3 separate regions of the Homo sapiens genome follow, and regions 1 and 2 are each linked to region 3. The links are contacts of gene promoters, found by promoter capture Hi-C in blood cells and fetal thymus (Javierre and others, 2016). All regions are on one chromosome and are shown on one strand. Each heading gives the region's core, a stretch centred on a gene start or on the middle of the fragment in contact. The rest is flanking DNA. Distances are from core to core; before and after follow the strand shown.

Region 1 (2,899 bases), core at 342-2,841, 360 kb after region 3:
ATGTGGGTGAGTGGAGGTGGCTCCTATGAGTGAGGGAAACTGGGTAGACACCAACAGCAGCTTACCTCTACCTACGTACCAACACTTGAGCACTGAACAAGTACTGAGTACGAAAGAAGATTTGCTGAAATTTGGAGTTACAAGACCCTTAGAAAATGCCAATCAGAAAATGAAAGTTAAGTGATTCTGCTCAAGGTCAATGTAAAATTATTAAAAATGCTAATGATATGGGCAGGAGGCGAGGAAATACTAGGTAGAAGAGGGCAGTTCCCTGGCAAAGGCCCCACCCTCAAGCCTGGAAACCCATGGACCTAAATGGGAACAGGCATCCCTGTTTTCACGCCCAAATGTTGCCTTTTCTAAGACCACTCTGGCCTGCCATGCCCCTATTCTGTGCCCACATAAACCCCAAGCTCCACGAGCAGAGGAACAGAAGAGTAGCAGAACGACAGAGCAGCAGAGTGGCATGGCATAGAAGAAGAGAAGAGAAGGAGCGTCTGAACATCAACAGGAGTTCAGCTGGGGACAGTCAGAGAGGAGATCGGCTGTGGGGCAGCCAAACTCTGGGGGAATATCACCTTCCCATTCCATCCTCTTTCCAGCTCCCCATCCATCCCACTGAGAGCTACTTCTATCACCCAATAAAATCCCTGCACTCACCATCCTTCAAGTCTGAGTGACCTGAATCTTCCTGGACGCTGGATGATATGGTTTGGCTCTGTGTCCCCACTCAAATCTCATCTTGTAGCTCCCATAATTCCGTGTTGTGGGAGGGACCTGGTGGGAGATAATTGAATCATGGGGGCGGGTCTTTCCTCTGCTGTTCTCATGATAGTAAGTCTCACAACATCAGATGGCTTTAAAAATGGGAGTTTGCCTGCACAAGTTCTCTCCTCTTGCCTGCTGCCATGTGAGATACGCTTTTCACCTTCTGCCATGATTGTGAAGCCTGCCCAGCTACGTGGAACTATGAGTCCAATAAGCCTCTTTCTTTTGTAAATTGCCTGGTCTCCGGTATGTCTTATCAGCAGTGTGAAAACAGACTAATACACCGGACAAGGATCCAGGTACCAAGAGGGCAGGGTGTAAAAGGCTGTCACCCTGACTCTCTACTGAGCTGGTTTAACACTTAGCCGTCCACAAATGGCAACTACTAAAAGAGCATTAATTGTAACACACCCCTAAACGCTACTGGGGCTGGAGCCCAAAAGCACTCGCCCCGCCCCAGCTCTTGCCCCCGCCCATCCGTGTGCTCGCCCTCCCGAAAGGAGTTCGAGCCTGTAGTGGCTGAGCACATGAGCGACACCTCTGTCATAAGTCCTGTGAGGGATCAGGGAACTCTCCCGTTTCACTAACATATGCTGAGAAAATGGGTGTCAGGTGAGAAAGTCTAAGCTTAAGACAGAAGATTAAAAGAAAAAAACAAAAGATGTATGTTTAAAGAATAAAAAGGAAGAGAAGAAAAAGGCAAAGAAGAAGGTTATAAGGCAACAAATAAAATCTCTCAAATTAAGAATAAATGGACAGAAGGAATTGAAGGGAAGAAAAACTAGAAGGAAAACCTCAGTCCTAGGGTGTGAAAGCATTAACAAGGATTATGAGTGATAATAGACATGTATTATTTTAGATTTGGCTTATTGTAGAGTTTTTTTTATTTCATATTGGAACTATAGATGATTCATTTCTTAAATAAATAGGAAAAATGCCTGAACAATATGTGAATGGCATTGAATTATTGAAGATTAAGGCTTATAGTTAAGGCTTATACTTAAAAATCACATTGATTGGAAAGCTTGATGAGTCAGAATCAAGCAATGGTAAATGGCTAAATGGTAACAATTTTTACCAAGTTACTATGGGCCAAAGTAATATCCTTCAAAGTGCCAGCTGTCACAACATAGCAAGATTTTTAAACAATGTCATTCTTGGCTGCAAAGGGAGCCAGCCACTTGAAGTAGAAGTTCAGTTTTGCTTTCTGGATAAAAAGAGGTAAGGAGAAAATCAGAATAAAGTTCTGAAATTTAGGAAGATAAAGGAAGGAAGTCTTTTTCAGAGTGTTTCTATAAATGGCACACATTGATTGCTGATATGACATTGATGAATGTTGATCAAAATGACTTAATTCATTCTATTGTGTGATAAGAGCACTAGAGATGTCATACAATTAAATTAACTGCAATAATTGCTAAAAACAAGGAGATTTAAAGAGCAGAATTATACCTGAAATCCTATAAATGGCTTTGAAAGTGCCTTTGGAAAGTGTCACTTACGTGCAAAGCCTTTAGAGGTTTTAATTTAAAGCAGAATCAACACATTTTTAAGCTACACTAAACAGGGGTCATCACTGTCTTCATATCTGTGAAAGACTGCTACAACAAAGCGGAAAGAGCAGAAATGTGCAGGCTTATCGGTTTAAGTTCATTCCTAAAAATCGTAGAGGGAGATAGAGAAATAATTGCTTCTTTGATAACATCCTAACGTTCTTTTTTTTTTTTTTTTCTAGGATGGCTGGGCAGGGTTCTGCAACACAGCAGAAACCCCAGGCTTCCCAAGACCCAGGATCAGAACTGTATAATGTCACTTCTGCCTCACTTTGTTGGACAAAGTATGTCACAAGATCATCTCAGTGGTGGTAAAATTATTATTATTATTATTTTAAGGCAGAGTCTCACTTTGTCACCCAGGCTGGAGTGCAGTGGTGTGATCTCGGCTGCTCACTACAACCTCCGCCTCCCATGTTAAGCGACTCTCATGCCTCAACCTTACCCATGTTAAGCGACTCTCATGCCTCAACCTTACCAAGTAGCTGGGATTACAGGTGCATGCCACCACAGCTGGCTAAATTTTGTATTTTTTTTTTCATACTTTAAGTTCTGGGGTACATGTGCACAACAAGCAG
Region 2 (3,115 bases), core at 144-2,643, 330 kb after region 3:
ACAAACCCACAGTCTTGAAATACCATGAATCCTTCTAACTCTTAATGATCCTACCTCATGGTCCTATATAGCTGCTCCAGCCCCTGACATCACATCTGCATTCCAAGCCTATAGCTCAGAAAGAAGGACAGAGGAGTTATCAGAGAATAGTCAGCAGTCTCTGCCAAATGTCTTGACTTTGCTTTTAACATGGGAAGGGCAGGAAGGCACAGCCCATTACCGACGATGCTTCACTGATAACTAACATTGAATCCATAACATCTAGAACTGTTCTTTCCTTTGGTCTGAAGCTGAACACAGTGATCCCTTGGAGCTCACCTTTGGCATGGCACCTGGAACAGATTCTAACTAAACCACCAGTTGAAGGCCTTCTCCTCACTTGGTCCCTCAAGGAACCTCCTTCTTCTGCAGGGGCTTTCTAATCACACAACCCTTATAGGCCCCTGAGTCCTCTAAATTATTCTACTTGTTCTCCCTCACCTGACCATTTCCCTTCCTTGGCCTTTAAGCTGACTTCAGCCATTCCTTTTCATCCAGTTTTCAGTGTTGTGGTCATTTTTCCTGCTGAAGATGGAGAGACCGTAGGATGGCTGTGTTTCAGGAGAGGAGGGAACAGTCAGACGTGTTCACTGCATAGGGGTCACCTCCTACAGCCACTCCTGTTATGTAAGGCCATCTCTGTGTCTTTGCCACTTTGATGTTCTTTTTACCAAAAGCTGCCTCTCTAGCCTGGCTGAGTGTAATGCCAGCCCCAGAAGGAGGCAGTGGTGTAGTGGTGGGTTGTGTTCTAGGACAGATTCCCCACTTCCCCTTCACGGACCAGTAAGGACTCCTGCGAGTAGAGCACACCATGCTAGTGAGGCCCAGGTTACTCATGCAGCCCCTAGAGGGCAGTAGACTTTACTCCTCATCAAGGCCAGGCAATTGCCTAGCCCTGCCAACACTTGCCTAACCTTTTACAACTTATCACTAAAAGGAATGCCAACTAATTACTGGGCATCCACTGTGTCAGGGATTAAATCGGCTCATCAAATCCTAACAACAGCCCTGCAAGATGGGGGAGTTTAGCTCCATTTTACAAATGAGGAAACCAAAGACCAGAGAGGTTGAGTAACTTACCCAAGGCTATAGATCTAGAAAGTGGTAGGACCAGGACTGCAACTCAGGTCTGATGCCCAGACTATGTTCTTTATCCTATGTGAGTTGCCTCTCATTAAATGTCCATAATTAGTCAGTGGTACGGAGAGGGAGGTATGGAGAATCAACACAATGAATGCAATGAATATTTACTAAGCTTCTACTAAGTGCCAGGTACCAGGGATACAAAGATGGATAAGACATGATCCTCAAGAAATGTCAGTTTAGCCAGGAATACAGTCGTGGACATGGATTACTTCAGGCCAGTGTACTAAGGGCAAAGATCTTATGAATACTCAGCAGCATAATCCATACTTGGGTAGAAATTTAAGAGAGGGAGCAGGAGGAATCACAGGAAGCTTCCTGGAAAGGACCATCTCTGAGCTGAGTCTTAAAGGGTGAATTTGAGTAGACAGGTAGATAATGTAAAAGGCATTTCAGGCAGAGGACACAAAACATGCAAAGGTCAGGAGGTAGGGCCGGTATAACATACCAGCCATATACTCTGTATGTATAGGCTCCAGTGTAGCATTTCAGTATACACCCAGCAAACATTTTTCACCAAATAAATGCATTCTCCTCCTGCAATGGGTAGAAACACACACACACACACACACACACACACACACACACACACACGCACATACACACACCCCAAAAACCTTTCTGGTCACTCCATTAATTTTTCAGTCACATTCTTCTTGTCTTTTCTCCTGCCTCAGCCTGGCTCCCACTTCTGCCTCCTCCCCTGTTCTCAGGTTCTCTATGTAGAATGTTCTGATTTCACCAGAAGACTTTTTTTGCCATGGTCCTGAAACTCCATTTTGCTTGCATTCATTGGAAGCCAAATGAATGTTGTACTTCTTGGAGTTCTGCTGAGATGTTGGGGGGCTGAAAGCCAGCGTCTTGGGTGAGTGAGGTCTTCATAGAGACTTCAGGTTTAAGTAAGACTGAGCCCATCTGCTGCTTCCATCCTTCCCAAACCTGGTTCCCAAGCAGCACTGGTGTCAGTCTAGCCCATTGAGGAGCTTTGCCTCCCATTGGCTCCCAGATTTTAGTTGCCGGGACACCTGAAGGAGAAGAAGGGTGTTGGTCCTCAATTCCCTCCAGCCTCATGTTGCCGTGGCCTTTATCCACGCCTCCGTGCTGGGTCCCAGCCTCTTGATTTCCCTTTCTCCTCTTACTCCAGGCCTGTCTCCCCCATCCCCAGAAACAGTGTAACCTATGCTTAGAAAATTAAGTTTTACAGGTTTCAGTCAGGGGCAGGAATTTCTAAGGGTGGGATTTTAATATCAGTGTTCGAGTTGATTCTCCCAGCATTTCTTGGGGTGGGAACCCCCCTAGCACCCCTGAAATCATACAAGCCTGTTAAGACAGTGGAGCTATATAGACCTGGGTAAATAACTCTATGCTCACACAAACCTGAGTTCAAATATGGGCTCTGCTACTTCCTGGCTTGGTGACTTCAGCCAAGGAGCTGAAACTCTCTGAGCCTCTGTATTCTTGTCTATAAAGCAGGGATAATAGTGCCATGGTGTAAAGCACTTGGCGTGGATACTATTATTATAACACTCCTTGCTCGTTTGTAGACACCGCTTGCTCATACATTGATTTTTTTGTTTTTTATTTTTTGAGACAGAGTCTCACTCTGTTGCCCAGGCTGGAGTGCAGTGGTGCGATCTCAGCTCACTGCAAGCTCCACCTCCTGGGTTCATGCCATTCTCCTGCCTCAGCTTTCCGAGTAGCTGGGACTACAGGCGCCCGCCACCGCACCCGGCTACTTTTTTGTATTTTTTAGTAGAGATGGGTTTTCGCCGTCTTATCCAGGATGGTCTTCGTCTCCTGACCTTGTGATCTGCCCACTTCGGCCTCCCAAAGTGCTGGGATTACAGGTGTGAGCCACCACGCCCAGCCACGTTGATTCATTTGACACAATTTTGTTAAGAGCAAAGTCTTTTTATAATTTAAAGCATATCAT
Region 3 (2,804 bases), core at 177-2,676:
GTATGCCATGTAGTTTGCTGTAGGCTTCGATGCAAAGCTTACCAGTTTTGGATTACATATATCAGGGGTTAAATCCTACCTCTGCTGCTGCGAACGTGGGGCACATTTCTTACTACCCAGACTGCTGAAATTCTTAAGCTTTTTTTCATATAGATGTGGTATATAAATATTCATGCCCCTCTTCGAACTACGGTTTCCTCATCTCTAAAATGGGGATTTTTTTTTTTTTAAATCATGCAATCCGATATATGCAAAGGACGGGGCATAATACATATATTCAATCCTGTTTTAGAGGGAAAAATCAGCCATCAACAATGTATCTAAAAATTTGCCACTCTGGTGACTTCTGAAAAAGGGAGATGACCAAACTGAAAACTCCGGCCCGAGAATACCTTAGATTATGAAAAACAGTATTGCAGAGAACACGAAGACAACAGAATCAAGCGTTCACTCGGATGGGCAAACCACCCCTTTCCCTGGGTCTCTGGACTAGACTGAACCACAGAGCTGCCTCCCTAAGTCATCTAGCCTTTCTGGCCTCAGTTTCCTCATCTGTAACATGAAGCGATTGCACCTAGTGATGTCTGACACACTTTCGGGCGTACAAAAGGCATCCACACGCAGGCCCGGCTTCAGCCTGAGGAGGGAGCTTGTGCTACCTGTCGCTGTCAGCAGGGGGCAACCCCACAGAAACCCCACACACTGCAGAGTCTGACAAGGCCTGAGAACACAGTGGAAAAACGCTAACCATTGCTTTTCTGGAAGCATTCTCTTCTGGGGAGATGTCAGAGGGCAAATGGGTTTCTTTTAAAACTGTTTTGTACAAATTCCTGAAAATGCCCCAAACTATAATAAGGGAGTTCTCTGTATCGAGGGGGTGGGGGACAGTGGGCAGGCCGGTGGGGAAAGGAATTCAGTCAGGGGAGAAGGGTAGGTGGGGGGCTTTCCTTGAAGCTGAATATTTTTCTGAGTAAAATCCAGCTTCCCTTCCTAAAGAAGCTTTAGGGAGGATAGAGAACTGAGCGCCTGGGCGCGTTCTCTTAATTCCCCTTGGTTCAGCTAAGGGATCCAGAGGGAGTGGTGGCTGTGAGGAGGGCTGGTGGCCACACGGCCTGCGGAGGCAAGCAGGTCTCTCTGAGGCAAGCCGTCACATCCGTGTCAAACAGCTCCCGGAGGCCCTGGGACTGCACCCAGCGCAGGTGCCGGCCCTGGAGCTGGAGATGGACGAGCAGACCCAGGCCCCAGGCCGAGCCTCTGAGCCCTGACACCCCTTACGATTCATCCAAAAAAGCAAAGAAAAGGCGCTTACGTGAGGGCAGCGGTGGCTAGGTCCAAAGAGGAGGCTTTCAAGGCAAGAGAAGGCAGGCGCTCCCAGCACCAGCGTGCAGTGGAAATAAAGACACCTGTAGCCTTGTGATATAAGTGACACCTACAGACAGGTCCGTTTGGTTTTTCAGGTTTACGCACAGCCCCTTTGATGACGGTGACATACAGTGTGACACGGCTCCTTGGAGGGGGGGAAATGGTTCTCATATGCAGAAAGTTTACCTTTATCCTGCTTTTGTGCGCAGCTCACCCCTGCCCTGCAACCCCCCACTCCCAGCCCAGGGGACTCAGTAAACAAGCAGAAAATTCTTGTCCCTGGGAGCTGTGCGGGGATCGTGCGTTTGGTGAGGAATTTTCCTCTGTGCAAGCTGGAGGGGAAACACAGAGATTCCACCCTGGTGCCGGTCTGCGCTGCCTCTCTCCCAGGCTGGCTGAGCCCAGTGCTTTTGTAAGATCATGTCTTTCTCCGTTTTTCCCATGTGGTGAGAAGGAAGAGCATTATAGGCCCAGTGTTAAGACCTCAGGTTTTGCAGCTAGTTGCCTTTAGATTCAAATTCAGTGTCCATCATTTCCTAGCTGTGCTACCTAGAAAAATGTAGCTAACATCTCTGGGCTTCATGAGTGTAATGTAAGTGATGGGGCCTCTCCTCATGTGGATGCCAGCTCTCAGGTGTCTCGCTGAGAACTGCCCGCTTTTTAGTACTTCTTCGTGACAACAGAAACTCTGCCTAATTTAGGCTGCAAAGCACAGTGTCCCAGGTCATCTATGAGACAGGTATTTATAACCCTGTGCCTTTTTGCATTCTGCTTCTAGCCATCTTGGGCAGCCGAGATGTTGTATTCAAATGGCAGACTCCAAGCTTTAAAGCGAAAGCAAGGACTGGTTTGTTATGTTTTCTTGGGATCACCGGGCATGGTTACAAACACACAAATACAAATACGCATATAGTCTGCAGAAACAAAAGGCAGTTCGTGAGAGGATTCGGGGTGTCATCATGGAAAAATTGTTGAAGGAAGATAGGTGACTGCCTAGACCCCTATCTTGGCTGGGTAACCTGGACTTCTCTGGGCTTCATTTTTCCCCAGTGGCAAAAGGAGGAAGTGGGATTGAAATAGTGATTTTTTTCAAACTGTGACTTGAGGAACCCCAGGGGCTCCCTGGAGCCCTTACAAGGACTTTTGCGGGTGAGAGGATGGGAGTGGAGTAGAGTGGGTTAGGCTCTAGACCACCCCGTTCCTTCCTGACTCAATAAGAGCATCTCAGCTTTTATATAAATCTTCCGGGTAAGATTTCATTTGAACAAAAGAATCTGCCCTTAGAAAGGGTTTGCAAGTAACTGGATTACATGGTCTTTGGGCCTCTTTCAAGCTTTAAAATTCTGTACTTCTCTTCCTCTTTGGTTTCTAGGGGACTGTGCACTGTGATAGTCCCACACACTGTGTTTTCCATTGTTGGGCACTGGCCTATCTTGTCATTG

Evidence for each region. Contacts are between HindIII fragments. The CHiCAGO score rates a contact against its expected background, and 5 or more counts as called.
Region 1: a fragment that was not itself captured here is called in contact with the fragment with the promoter of ELF5 in region 3 in 1 of 17 cell types (endothelial precursors); the score reaches 6.2 in endothelial precursors.
Region 2: a fragment that was not itself captured here is called in contact with the fragment with the promoter of ELF5 in region 3 in 1 of 17 cell types (M2 macrophages); the score reaches 5.9 in M2 macrophages.

The regions. Positions count from the first base shown.
Region 1 is chr11:34,874,507-34,877,405 of GRCh38, forward strand. It overlaps LOC102723568 (a long non-coding RNA gene), which reads left to right. Exons shown (of 7, transcript XR_007062652.1): 7 at 2,504-2,899. It overlaps LOC105376624 (a long non-coding RNA gene), which reads right to left and starts at 772. Exons shown (of 2, transcript XR_931185.2): 1 at 661-772. The HindIII fragment of the contact is 397 bases long and covers 1,394-1,790 here.
Region 2 is chr11:34,840,084-34,843,198 of GRCh38, forward strand. The region is part of intron 6 of LOC102723568 (a long non-coding RNA gene); the gene reads left to right. Among named protein-coding and RNA genes, the nearest start is that of APIP, 75 kb to the right of the region's middle. The HindIII fragment of the contact is 202 bases long and covers 1,293-1,494 here.
Region 3 is chr11:34,512,368-34,515,171 of GRCh38, forward strand. It overlaps ELF5 (E74 like ETS transcription factor 5), which reads right to left and starts at 1,427. Exons shown (of 7, transcript NM_001422.4): 1 at 1,310-1,427. The HindIII fragment of the contact is 1,187 bases long and covers 998-2,184 here.